2 separate regions of the Homo sapiens genome follow, and region 1 is linked to region 2. Evidence: promoter capture Hi-C in 16 types of primary human blood cells and fetal thymus (Javierre and others, 2016). All regions are on one chromosome and are shown on one strand. The core of a region is centred on a gene start or on the middle of the fragment in contact, and the rest is flanking DNA. Distances in the headings are between cores, read along the strand shown. Region 1 overlaps ENAH (ENAH actin regulator). Region 2 holds the start of ENAH (ENAH actin regulator).

What was found. The method cuts DNA at HindIII sites, captures the fragments that hold promoters and counts their contacts. A CHiCAGO score of 5 or more calls a contact.
Region 1: a fragment that was not itself captured here is called in contact with the fragment with the promoter of ENAH in region 2 in 1 of 17 cell types (endothelial precursors); the score reaches 6.3 in endothelial precursors.

The regions. Positions count from the first base shown.
Region 1 is chr1:225,486,907-225,493,984 of GRCh38, forward strand. ENAH (ENAH actin regulator) reads right to left here. Exons shown (of 14, transcript NM_018212.6): 14 at 1-7,078. Among named protein-coding and RNA genes, the nearest start is that of LINC02765, 23 kb to the left of the region's middle. The HindIII fragment of the contact is 2,064 bases long and covers 3,071-5,134 here.
Region 2 is chr1:225,648,810-225,655,554 of GRCh38, forward strand. It overlaps ENAH (ENAH actin regulator), which reads right to left and starts at 4,314. Exons shown (of 14, transcript NM_018212.6): 1 at 3,877-4,314. The coding sequence starts at 3,881. RefSeq lists a silencer at 4,164-4,293. The HindIII fragment of the contact is 13,770 bases long and covers 1-5,825 here.

The sequences.
Region 1 (7,078 bases), core at 2,853-5,352, 160 kb before region 2:
AGCAAAGCTGCAAAGTAGGAAAGAAAGCTGAGGGAGAGATTGATCCGATTTCAACGATGTGGCCACTTAATGCAAACACAGGGGTCTGATGCTGCAAACCTAAGTCACATGAGTCCAGTGACTTCAGCAGGTCCACTGATCCACCACAGTGACAGGGCCAGGCCCCTTCCTGCTGAATCCTAACTTTACACATTCTAGACACATGTCATGCACATACAGGTTACACTTTATGGTTACATGAAATTGCATGCAATTCACACAGAGAATCATTTTGAAGGCACTGTATTTTGCAGCAGGAGCTGCTACTTTCTGGCAAGTCCTTCCTAGGTTGGCTCACAAGTGGTCCTCCTTTTTATTTATTCCTATATGAAACTTTGGTCCAAAAATCAGGTGCAGTCTGATCCTACCCTCCCAGCTGTTTTAGTTTCATGTCTCACCTTCTCTTCCACGTTCCCTTCTTAAACGTAGATGTCAAGCTTAGAAGATGTTTCCTGACAATGAGATCCTGTTTAATTCAGATTTTCAAACAACTTGAGTCAAGCAAGCAGGAGCTTATAGTATGTTGATTTAAAACAAGTTGTTACCAGTTTCCCTTACCCTTGAATTCGGCAAGGCCCATTAATTCACAAATTCCATGATAAGATACATGAGGTTCTGTATGCATAGTAAATGATTTCTAGTTACAATTAAAATACAGCCTTGTATATGTTTAAGTCAACCTTAACTTTTAAAACATGACTTCAGTATACGCAACCTTAGGCTCACTTCCAGATTATAAAGTCCCATTCATGGGGTGCAAATGTTTACATTGTTAGCAAAGAAAATAGCTCTGCATAATCTTTTGACATACATGCACACTTCTAGTTCTAAAATTCAGAGCAAAGCAAGATGACAAGAGATTCCAATTCCAGCATATATTATGAAAGGTTATGGACTGTGACTATCCATCCTTTTGGACCATAAGAAATTCACTTTTAAATTTTTTCTACTGTGCTGTTCTACTATATACTTTTGGTCTATCAACTTGGTAGGCCTGAAAAAAAAAAGTATTTAACCTTCTAAATCTCATAATAGAAATTATGTACGTTGTTCTTTAACCAGAAAGGTTCACTGCTGACTCCCCCACCTCTCAAAAAACAAACAAACAAACAAACACCACCAAAGCTTTCCGCCATTCATGCACATGCTTATTCTGACCCCAACCCCATCCCTACAAAGGGGCAGCAGACAGCACAATAGTCAAGGACAAGGTTTTTATTTATTTATTTATTTATTATTTATTTATTTATTTTTTAAGGAGACAGGCCTCGCTATGTTGCCCAGGCTGGCCTCCAACTTTGGGCTCAAGTGATCCTTCTGCCTCAGCCCCCCGAGTCGCTGTGCCTAGGAGCACGCACCACCACACCTGGCTTAAGTAGAAGGTTCTGAAATCTGCCAGAGGCTGAGCAACAGAAAGCTTCCAATGAGAACTCAGAAGGCATTCACTCTGCCTGAAGTTGTGCTCTGCTCACAGCACGAGTGTGGCTGTCCCTCTCTCGCTCCCACCAGCTACATAATAGGGACTTTCAGGATGCTCCTATAAATACAGACTCCAGAGAGGTTTCCTCAAAAATTAAAAAAAAAATTCTATGCAAATATGTAAGTACTGTCATTGAGGATTACAGAAATACTTTGCATCAACTACAGATGTCTCAAAATAGAATTCTTTCTAGCTCATTCAGTTTTGTTAGAAACACTTCATGTTCTCCAAAAAAGAAAAGCACCTAACGAAAAGCATGTCCTATTCATGCTAGCAAGAAATGAATCCCAAAGGACACGCACCAAGAACCAAAGTAAAAGAATGTCAGCAAAACAGGACCCATCTTTTATCATCCCAAACTGCTATTTCCATCTCTGACTTTCTGCCAAATTATCTTTATCTTCCTAAGACGAAGCAAAGACTCAGAGCCCTCAAATGGCACGGAAGCGGCACCTGGTCTGCCAAGACATTGCTGTTAAACAGAGTCTTTTGGATTAAAACCAGGGAACTCGGAAGGAATGACTACATGGATATAGATGGATAAGATGGAAGATATAAAATAAGAAGGGCAGGAGGGTAAGATTATTCCTTTTTTCCTTTCAAGGCTGACAGTGATAGAATAAACAGCAGCACAGCAGGTTCAGATGATATGAAAACCACTGAATTCTGCCCAGGAATTGAAAGAAGGGCTTCTTCACTTCATCGAGCTCTGGAAAGTCTGTTTACTTAGAAACAGCTCTTGAACTACAAGAGTCAAATGGACCTTCTGCTATTCATATAATTGGAGCATGGATCTCGTGTGGTCCCATTACATGATTGGAATCAGTCTTTCTGAACGGCAGAATGTGCTTCCAGGTTGAAGCACAATGGAGAATGTACTGAAGCCACCACAGAGATGCTGGTAATTCAAACTGTGAAAGCACGTGGCGCAGAGGAAACTGACACAGAACAGCACACCACTGGTGCTTTATGCAACACCACTGACCCCAAGATGGTCACTCCATTGATTTTTCCGCATTGTTTACATCCAGGATGCATGCTGTCCAGTGCAATAGCGTCTATGACTATAAAACAACTAAAAGCTGCACTTAAGATGGGAGAGCCAAACTCAGATCTTTTTTCTCCTTCTCTTCAAAGATCAAAAGAAGAATAAACCAAAAAAGATTAAAAAAAAAGAATAAACCAACCAGTAGCTGCCGAGAATACAGTGAAAGAGGAAATTCAGAACTCAACTTTATCGGGGATGGGCACGGTCGCTTATGCCTGTAATCCCAACACTTTGGGAGGCCAAGGTGGGTGGATCACCTGAGGTCAGGAGTTCGAGACCAGCCTGGCCAATACGGTGAAACCCTGTCTCTACTAAAAATACAAAAATTAGCCGGGTGTGGTGGCGCATGCCTGTAGTCCCAGCTACTAAGGAGGCTGAGGTAGGAGAATCGCTTGAACCCGGGAGGCAGAGGTTGCAGTGAGCTGAAATCACACCACTGCACTCCAGCCTGGATGACAGAGCGAGACTGTCTCGAAATAATAATAATAACAATAATAATAAAAAGCTTTATCTATCCTTGCTTGTATAGTGGCAAGGAAAAAATAAAAACAAAACAAAAAGAATTTAAAAAAAGAACTCAACTTTAGAGGTAGAAGGCTCAGAGAGAATGACTGACTAGCCCCACAGCCTGAAAACTGGTAAAGTCAGTCCCAGTCCAATGACCTGCCCACAACTCCACACACAAAAAAGGACAGACTGAGAGAGACTGAGGGCGGGAGGAACACAGAGAAAGGGAAATCAAGTCCAACAAGGTGGCAAAGACATGGACTCAATAACAATTTTTACCATGTTTTCTTTCAGAAACAAGGACATTTTATGTGAGGATCAAATATTCTCCCTTCAAAAACTTCTGCAATTGAAGGCCGAGGCGGGCAGATCACCTGAGCTCAGGAGTTCAAGACCAGCCTGGGCAACATGGTGAAACCCCATCTCTACTAAAAATACAAAAATTAGTCGGGCATGGTGGCACGCGCCTGTAGTCCCAGCTACTTGGGAGGCTGAGGCAGGAAAATCCCTTTGAACCCAGGGGGGGGAAGTTGCAGTGAGCCGAGATCGCACCACTGCACTCCAACCTGAGTGACAGAGCAACACTCCGTCAAAAATTTTTTTTTGCAATTGAAACTTAAAATGATCAAGCCCAAAGTACCTCTGGGAAGGACACCAAATTGTAAAGTCCTGACTCAGGCCTGAACCTCCCATCCCTCTAGTAATAAAGAAGAAAGGAAATGCTACCTAGATTTTAACAGGGCTTTCTTCTCAATATCTAAGCCTTCCCAATTACTTTCCTCAGATAAACTATAAGCTATTCTTCTCCTGGAAATTTAAGTGGCAAAGTCAACGTCTTTTACCAACCATCCATGGGCTATTGCTGAGTTGCGGAACTAGCCTACAGCTAACTCAAATTCATCACCTCAGACTCACTGTGATGCCCAACCACTGGCACTGGGGTGGCCTTATGACTTACGACAATCAAATGGGGTTTGTGAATCCATGGTTAAGCTAGCCTGCCACCAAGGATGGACAAACCTCAGACTTGATCAATGGGTGGAGGGAAACTCCATATTTAAAATGCCCAGTGCCTCGGTCAGCAGAACCAACCAAGTGACACCTGAGATCAACTGGTAGTAATAATGAAAAGCTGGTATTTCTCACATAAAACACGTTGAAAAACATTTATTTATTTAGAGATGGAATCTCGCTCTGTCGCCCAGGCTGGAGTACAGTGGCGCGGTCTTAGCTCACTGCAACCTCCACCTCCTGGATTCAAGCGACTCTTCTGTCTCAGCCTCCCGAAGAGCTGGGATTACAGGTGCCCACCACTATGCCCAGCCAATTTTTTTGTATTTTTAGTAGAGATGGGGTTTCATCATGTTGGCCAGGCTGGTCTCAAACTCCTGACCTCAGGTGATCTGCCCACCTCAGCCTCCCAAAGTGCTGGGATTACAGGCGTGAGCCACCATGCCCGGCCATGAAACATTTATTTTTAAAATGCCTTTAATCTTTAAAAAAAAAAATAAAAGAAAAAGAAAAAAAGAAAAGAGGTTTCACAGATGTGACTAAAGCATGGACTGTTAGGCGCTTAAGAGACCAAATTTTTAAAAGCGTTCTGTAATGTATCTCTCTTATATGGTTGCAACAATGTGTATTTTAAGTGTAAGCCAAGAACCTTTTCTCTCAGTTTCTATAGACTTGGATGGAAACTTTTGGACTTGATGGGAAAATTAACTCTCAATCTAAACACTAGCCAATGTAGACTTTTTCTTCTGAGTGCTTTTTCCTATGGAATTCAAAGTACCAACTATTCAATTCTCGATTTTCTAAGCCTTCTTAGAAGAATAACTATTTACTAAAACCCAACCAAACCAACCTATAACATCATCCATCTCCTTTATTAGTTATTTCTTTATGCTTTTAGAATTGTCATCTACTGCTGAAGAAATCTTTCTTGGAATTGAAGGGAACAGTTAAATCAGATTTACATGATAAACTATGGGTTGTCATTTGTATATAGAACTTTTACGGAATAAATGTAGTCTAACAAACTGGGCTCTCTAATGAAATATGTAAGCTTTTCTAATAATTTCTATGAAAAGCTATATTCTCTTAGAATTTTTTTTTTTTTTTTTTAGAGACAGGTTCTCGCTCTGTCACCCAGGCTGGAGTACAGTGGCATGATAACGGCTCACTGCAGCCGCGTCCTCCCTGGGCTCAGGTGATCCTCCCGCTTCAGTCTCCTGAGTAGCTGGGATTACAGGTGTGCACCACCATGCCTGGCCTAAATTTTTAAATTTTTTTGTAGAAATGAGTCTCCCTGTTACCCAGGCTGATCTCAAAACTTCTGGCCTCAAGCAATCCTCCCGCCTCTGACCAGTTTACCGAGCTATTTAGATGTCCTAACTACTAGGAATTATATGTCTTTAAAAACTGAGGAAAAAGAACAGCACTACTCAAATGGTATATTCTTTTTACTCTCAGCCACCAACTGGGGCCCCTAATTTTCTCCCTCTGCCTAGAATTCCTGTGTCCTACACCAGAAGCGTCTACGGGCCCTGCTCTCTGCTCTTTATGAGTATTTAACATGCTTCACAGAACGGGGGTGCAGCTCAGTGACTGTGATTCTTTGGTTCAAACACTTAATTGGGGCTTCATCTTTGATTTTTTCTGCATGTTAATCTGCAAATACTCAAGGCCTACTATGTGCTTTAAATGATACTAACACTTCCGTTTAGAAGGTTGTGTGCATCACAGAGTATCTGTAACGGGGACAGTCCTATTTCCCTTTCTCAATTTTCAGATGTATCGATTCCTTCAGATTTCAACAGAAATAACCAATAAATGTGGCAGACATTCTTACAACATCCTAAGTCATTATGACAGTCATTTATCCTTTTACAATGTTTCTGTTACTTTATAAAGAAAACTATTTAGAAAGACAAATTTAGTTAATTCTTTAGCAGTTGTCAAATGTGTCTCCTCACCAAAAGATTTTACTCTTATGTGACTTGACCATTAGTATTCCACAAATAATTTATCCTAGAACTCCATTTATTTATGTTGATGGTGAGTATCTGTAACCATCCTAAATTTACTGCATTAATATTTTACTTTTCTTTCTAATCAATTTTAGGTTTTAATTTGAAGGTTTCATCTTTCCAGTATTGATATTTTAAAAAATCTTGATGTCTCAAAAATTATCGAGAGATAACATAAAGGGGAACACACCAAATAATCCACAGCTTTTGATGTTGGGAACAGAAAAACCTGCATCACAGACCTCCAACAGTTCTTGGCTTCTATAAACGGACTTTCTTGAGGGGTTACTGACTTCAGCTGCTTAGTCAAATCTACAAATCCTCAAAAGAAAACTCTTCTTTAAGTAATTGTCCTCTACTATGTCTTTACATAGCCAAAGCTACCTACATCAATTTCATTCCTTCAGAGTCATGGAGATTCCTTATAAATACCTGTATGTCAAGTTTTGACTTTAAAAATATTAAATGGCTTTTAGTGAAAAGGCAGAGGTATTAAACATCAGTAATTTCAATATACTAGGATCCTTTTCTCATTCCTTAGAGCTTTGGAGAGATGTACAGATATGAACTCATCTTTCTATTAAAAACAAAAGTGGTGCTACCAGAAAAAGGTTTGGAGTTTGGAAGTGAATGAGAGTAAATGTCTTCAGGAAAGTGAATTTTATGATAGCTACATAAAGGAATTAAGAGCTCCTGCAGAGTTCCTTTGCGATGTTTGCTTTATATAGTTACTTTTACGCTGCTTATAATCGGTAGAATTTAAAGGGTAATGGTGTTATAAAATTATAATGGCCACACAGGAATTAAAGAGACCTTGTAGCATACCTTTGCACACTGTGCTTCATAGGGTAATACTACTTAGAATTAAAAGGCCAATTCTTCACAATGGCACTGAAAGTATATATAAATTTACAAGAGACATAAAAGTTGTAGCTAGGTAAATTTAAAAGATTATCATGTTACTTAACTCATTTTTGA
Region 2 (6,745 bases), core at 3,064-5,563:
AACCTGGATCTTCTGACCCTTGATTGTACCACACTCTGAAATGTATATAAAATTTATGATTACCACAAATAAAGATACTTCAAAGACCCTAAGGAAGGAAACACAGAAGAAGGGAACAGCTTCCTCACCTATAAAATAATAAAAATGTGGTCTTTTTGACATCCTTGAGCTAAATAAGGTCGCAAGGTGGAGCCCACTGCCCAGAAGTTTTACCCAAATAGTCTAACATAGAAATAGGCCTGGAAACAGGAGGAGTAACATAAATTTAAGGCTTACCAGTGTATAAAGTACCTTCTATTATCATTTGATCCTCACTACTCAGTTAAGAATTATCTCTATTTTTACATATTTTTTAAAAAGGCATCAGTGAAATAATGTGATTACTTCAAGGTCACCCAGCTAGTAAATGGCTTGGACAAATCCTCATAACCCTACTATACCTTTTTATATGAGAAAGTCAGAGTAGCTAGTGGAAGCCTGGACTATTTTAATACGGATCCAAGAATGTAAATACAAAATCTTCTGAGCTCTCCTTAGCCACCAGGCTACATGCAACTATTTTAGATCAGACAAGCTCCTCTTTCAGTTAAAAAAAAAAAAAAATCTTAAGTAACAAACCAACTAATTTTAAAAATGCACTTAAAAGGCACACACTGTATGTACATGCATACAAACGCATTCACATACATACACGCACACTTTAATCACAAAGCATCTTACACTTTTGAAACATTGCATAAATGAAAAATAAGAATAGAACTAAACAGACAGGACACTAAAAGTACCAGCTTTTTGGTCTCAACCTTTCCACTGTCCTGTATAAGTAATATGCTTTTTCATTTTTTAAATATTCATCTTTAAGCAAAATATTAACAAGTAAATCTATATACTGCATTTTACTCAAATGCCTATGACCGTTTCAGGAACATAAACTATTATTCAGTTCTCTTCTGTATAAGATTATACACAGTGATCATGCTATTCCTAAAATTAAAGTCATCTGACAGATACCACTAATAGTTATACCGTAATATATTCATCATATCCTCTGTTCAGGATTCTGACCGACTTAATTGGAAATTCCTGTTCAGGCATTCCTATTTCTGGATGGCCTTTGAAACATCAGAACTACCTCTTAATATAACCAAAAAGGACTCAACTTAAAAGACTAACATTAACGTCCCACAGGACTTGAAAGCATGAAGACTAAGCATATATTAATATAACCTGAAAAGCACTTCCTAAGCACCAAAATATCCCAAAGAATATTCCAAAGACTTTTGCAAGCAGCACAAGAACGTTTTATCCCATACCAATCTCACTTTTACAGGTATCTAAGCAAATCTAAGTACTACCTAACCACCTGCCAAATAATCCAGTACCTTCCAAAGTGAAAAGCTGACCCTCTTTCCTGCTCTTATTCAAAATTAGCCTACGAAGAATTACTGTAGACTGCTTAAATAAACTTTTCAGACCTGTGTACCAAGTTCTATATTTACGTTACTGGAAAACATCAGCGTGGTTCCTCTCTCTCTACACTTCATAAGGAACAGAGCAAGAAAAGAGCTTGAAAAACAGAAGTTACTTTTTATTAGAAAAGGAATTTTCAAGTGAAGACATAATTTACCTGTGACAGACTGACATCTATACATGACAGTGATTAAACTTCACTGAATACCCAAAACGGTAACTTTTTTTTAGTTCACAATCTTTGAATTAGACAACTATTCCTGTTTTTATTTAAAAATAACCCACTTTCGGCCAGGCACCGTGGCTCACGCCTGTAATCCCAGCACTTTGGGAGGCCGAAGCTGGTGGATCACGAGGTCCGGAGTTGGAGACCATCCTGGCTAACATGGTGAAACCCCGTCTCTACTAAAAATACAAAAAATTAGCCGGGCGTGGTGATACCCGCCTGTAATCCCAGCTACTTGGGAGGCTGAGGCAGGAGAATCGCTTGAACCCAGGAGGCGGAGGTTGCAGTGAGCCGAGACCGCGCCACTGCACTCCAGCCTGGGCAAGAGAGCAAGACTGCATTTAAAAAAAAAAAAAAAAAAAAAAAAAAAAAACTTTCCCTGTTTTATATTTCTCAATGTTAAGATAAGTTTACCCAAAGTTTGAAACAACTGATAACTTCTGGTCTGCAAGATCCCTACGGCATTAGATCTCTAAAACAGAAACCAACAACATATAATATTACAAGATATAACAGTATGTATATTATAGTTCCTGAGTTTAAGGACATCAGTAACTTGATTTAAAAAAAAAGAAGTCATGCTCAAACATACGACTCAAAGTTTTCAAGCCATATTTTACAAAGATTGTGTTTTTTGGTTCGTATGCTATAATTACTATTTAAACTCATCGCTTATATTTGAAAATAACTTGTGTGAAATCATCAAGGGAAAAGGGGTCAGTCGCCTAGAGACACCACATTAAACTCACTCTTTAAGGCCATCATAAATACAGGTAACTTGGAATCAGAAAAAAAAATTCAAATTCACAGTAAGCCTAAGTAAAAATTCAACAAAGATATATCACAATATATATATAAAAGCAAAATGGAAACACGTTTAACCTTGATAGAAAAAAAAAATGAAAAGCAAAGTTTAAAATGGAAACTACCGAAATTGAGAAAGAATTCCAATGACATGACATTTTCTTGCCAAAGCGAAGGAATTTGTAGATTATATCATTCAAATCTCATTGTATTACATTATAAAGGTCTTAGCAACGGTTGGCCATTAATCTTTAACACAAAGGAGATTCAAATCCAAATGAACTGTAAGACTATCTCTTCCAGGAGAGAGAAATGGAGTAATTTACTTTATCCACAATTGTTTAACCCAAAAGGAAGGCCTTTAAGGATGATAACGCAGAATGGATCAGCCTTCAGTCTACCAAGTCCCATTTCACACGAAGTCTTGCACCAATCCGAAAAGAGAAGGTTATGGACACAGAACAGGTTTAGGAAAGGCTGGAAAAAAAATCTCCAATGAATGACACACCACATCACGGTTTATTCTCCTACACAATTTGAGAAACAATAAAGAAAAATATCATACCATATGTTTCATCGTATCAATTAAAAAAATATTTTACGACAGTACATTCAATTCTTCGGGGCCGCAAAAATAATTTAGCTCCTGTTTTATTGAGTACAGAGCAAAGGGAAAAAGCAGCTGCTGCAATGCAACACAGGCTGCTACAGAGAAAGGGGAGAAAAGGCTTTTCCAAACAGATCCCTTCCCCGCCCCCGCTTACACACCCCTACCAACTTACTTATCCCAGTCTTTTACTGCCCCCACCACGTGAACCTAATCAATTCTTTCCCTTCCCCCACCATCGTGAAATTTCACCTTTCACAGCTCCTTCACCTACCCCTACCAGAGGCACTTTATTACCCGCAGAGATTTCAGACCTTTCAAACTTTTCTTCCTTTTTTAATTAAACACGAGAGTTCGGAGGCAAAAGTGCATGAAATTTTTACATATATACGAAAAAATACCTGTTTCCCAGCAACACGCACGCTTCGATTCTCGAACCCCTCCCCATCTCCCGGGTTTCGCTTGCAAAGGCTTGGGGGAGGGAGCCAGGCGCAAATTAAATTTAGGAAGGGAAATCCTGGGTGAAAGAAGAGCATTTGAGGAAAAATGAGAGAACGATGAAGCGAGACCCCCAAACCACACGGGTTGGGGAGGTTTCCAAGAAAGAAAGAGAAATTGGAAGGGACAAAAGGCGGAGGGGGGAGGAACAGACCGGAGACCAGGGGAGACGCGCCGGGCCGGGAGAGGGAAGGCGGGGTCCGAGGAGAACGGGGGTCGCGGCTCCCGCGGCACAATGGCCCGCCCGGCCCCCGCCCCGCGCGCCCCTCACCTCATGGTGCCGGCGGCGCAGAGGCTTCCCCACCAGCCGGGAGACGCAGAAGGCGCCGAGCCGAGGGGGGGGTCTCTCCTCCAGGGGTGGGGAGCAGCTCGGAGACGGGAGACAAGTGTCCGGCTCCTCCTTCGGCGGCCAGGGGGCTACACCATCTCCTCGCACAAAGCCGAGGCGCCGGCCGGGAGTGTGGGAGAAGAGGGCGAGAGAAAGGCTGGGGAGGGGGCGGAGAGGCCGAGGCGCGGAGCTGGTCCCCAGGCGGCCGCCGCCTCCCACCTCCTCGTGGTCCTGCTCCTCCTCCCGGAGCTTCCTCGGCCGCCCTCTGAGGGGTGCCCGCCGGGGCCGCGCGCCCGGCCGCCGCTCCACAGGCCCGCGCTCGCCGCGCCGCCGCCGAGGCCGTGTGCAACCGGCAGCTGCTGCAGCCGCGGGAGGAGAGTCGGGATCGCCGCGAGGAACCCGGGAGGAGGCGGGGCGCGCGGCGGAGGAACACGCAGGCGCCGCCCTCCTCCCCTCCTTCCCCCGGGGGCGAGGGGGCGGTGCGGGGGGAGGGGAGGAAAGGGGAGGCGGGGGGCCGGGCGCACTCCCCCGCGCCGGCGGCCGGGCCCCCGCCGGACTGCGGAGAGCGAGGCTGGGAGAGAGCGAGCGCGACGGCGGCGGCGGCGGAGAGAGGCTCTTTGTTGCCTCCCTACCCCGCCCCCTGCACCCCTCTGGGATTCGGGCGGGCCACCACCCCCCCCTCCCGCCCAACACCTCCGGCCAGTTGTCGGCCGGGGTTCCTCGCCCGTGGTTGTCCTTGACCGTCGGCCCCCTCCCCGTCGCCTCCCGCTCCCCAGAGGCTTGGGGAGCTCCGAGGCCTCCCCCACGGCCACGGTGCGGAGACCGAGGCGCCGAGACCTCCTGGGCGCCAGACCCGTAGGCACCGGCGTGGGGAGCTTGGACGCGTGACTGGGCACAGGGCCGGGCCAGGAGACTCCGGGTCGGCTCGCGGCCGGGTGCCCTCGCGCGGGGCGAGTGCTCAGCCCGCCCTGTTGCGGTCTCAGGACGGGGATGAGGGAATCGGGGGGCATCCCGGTCAGCCCAACTGCCCGCCCTCGCCGCGGCTGCGCCCAGCGATTCCTGCGGAGTTGAGGAGGGGCATATAAATGGAAAATATGGTCATCATTGTTCCCTTCGCTCCTTTTCTTCCCGAGGAATCCCAGCGTGCTGCGCCGATGGAACGAGTTGATGTGCACACTAGGTATAGGGATGACTTCATCCCCAAACGAACGCAGCCGACTCTCGGGGAAACGCAGTCGCCGGGAGACGCGCGCGGAACAGTGTGTTGCCGCAAGAGTGGAAGAAGAGAAACGCAGCCAGTGGAGCCGCTTTCCAGCGTCATTAGCAAAGAGGGAATCCCGGGCAGGGGGCGGGGAGAGAGAGGAACTAATGATAATTTTAAATTTTTCGTCATTCCCAATGGTCTTGAAGTCACCTCCCTTAAAAAGTAGATATAAAATACTGGCGAGGCAATTTCATTTCAAGTCAAGTCGGGGAGGAGGGCATCCAGGAAGCCAGAATTGATCGTTGTTGAAGGTTTTGTTTTCGGTTTTTTTTAAATCTAAAAACAAATCCAATAATAAAATTTTTAACTGTACGAATTACGGCCCCCTTTTAGTCCGGAAGACAGGGATGTACTTTCTGTATAAAAGGTGAGGAGGATAGAAAAGGGTTGTTGCTACAGGGATCCTATTGCTGAAGGATCTCATCCAAAATGGAGGACCTACCATGACTCCAGGAATCCATTCAAAAGTTTTGGTGTTTTGTTTTAAGATGCAGGTACCATTCAAAAGATAGTTAGGAAGGTTGGGATAATGTACACTTCCAAATGAAAAGACAGGTTATAGTGATCCGTGGTCAATGCCTGATTTGTCTATAATTGAACTGTGTAGCCCATTTTTAACCATAAAAAAAGCTTCCTGGTTTCAGCCGGGTGCGGTGGCTCACGCCTGTCATCTCAGCACTTCGGGAGGCTGAGGCAGGCGAATCATCTGAGGTCAGGAGTTCCAGACCAGCCTGGCCAACATGGCGAAACCCTGTCTCTACTAAAAATAAAAAATAAAAAAACAGCCGGGCGTGGTGGTGCACGCCTGTAATCCCAGCTGAGTCAAGAGAATCGCTTGAACCCGGGAAGAGGAGGTTGTAGTGAGCTCAGATCACACCACTGCACTCCAGCCTAGGTGACAGAGCGAGACTCCATCTAAAAAATAAATAAATAAATAAATAAATAAATAAATAAATAAAATTCCTGGTTTCAGAGCTCAATACCGAGTTATTTTCTTTTTGGAACCGGCAGCCTTAGACCAACAGCCCTATAGAAGCAGTGACCCGGAGCTATGGCAGAGGATCAAGGTGGCCTCAGGTAGTAGAAAGCATGATGCCTCTGCCTTAAACATGGTGTACTTGAAGAACGCTAATTTCCACCCACATATCTAATTACAGCTTACCATTACAGAGGGCATTTTATTCAAGGATCTCCAACCACTGGAGAGAAAACAAACTTGCCAGTCAAATGTTCTAGTTGCCATATTGCAAGTAGAGACAGGGAAACATAGAGCTCAAGTAACTGGATCAATTAGTGCAACAGGCATGATTAAAAATCATAGCTACCAACTATGAGGGTCATTGTCTTACGTAAGTTTCTCCCTGTAGTTTGAAACACATACCTCAAGTATTTGAACATGTGCTGTGGAGAGTTTTTTCTTGGAAAAATTAAGACATATTGAACCATCTTGGAAAAGTATTAATAAAACATATTCGACCACAGAGAAGTCACACCAATTTGCCTTAGTCCATTCATAGCAATACAGTAAATCCGACAGAGCTTATGTTT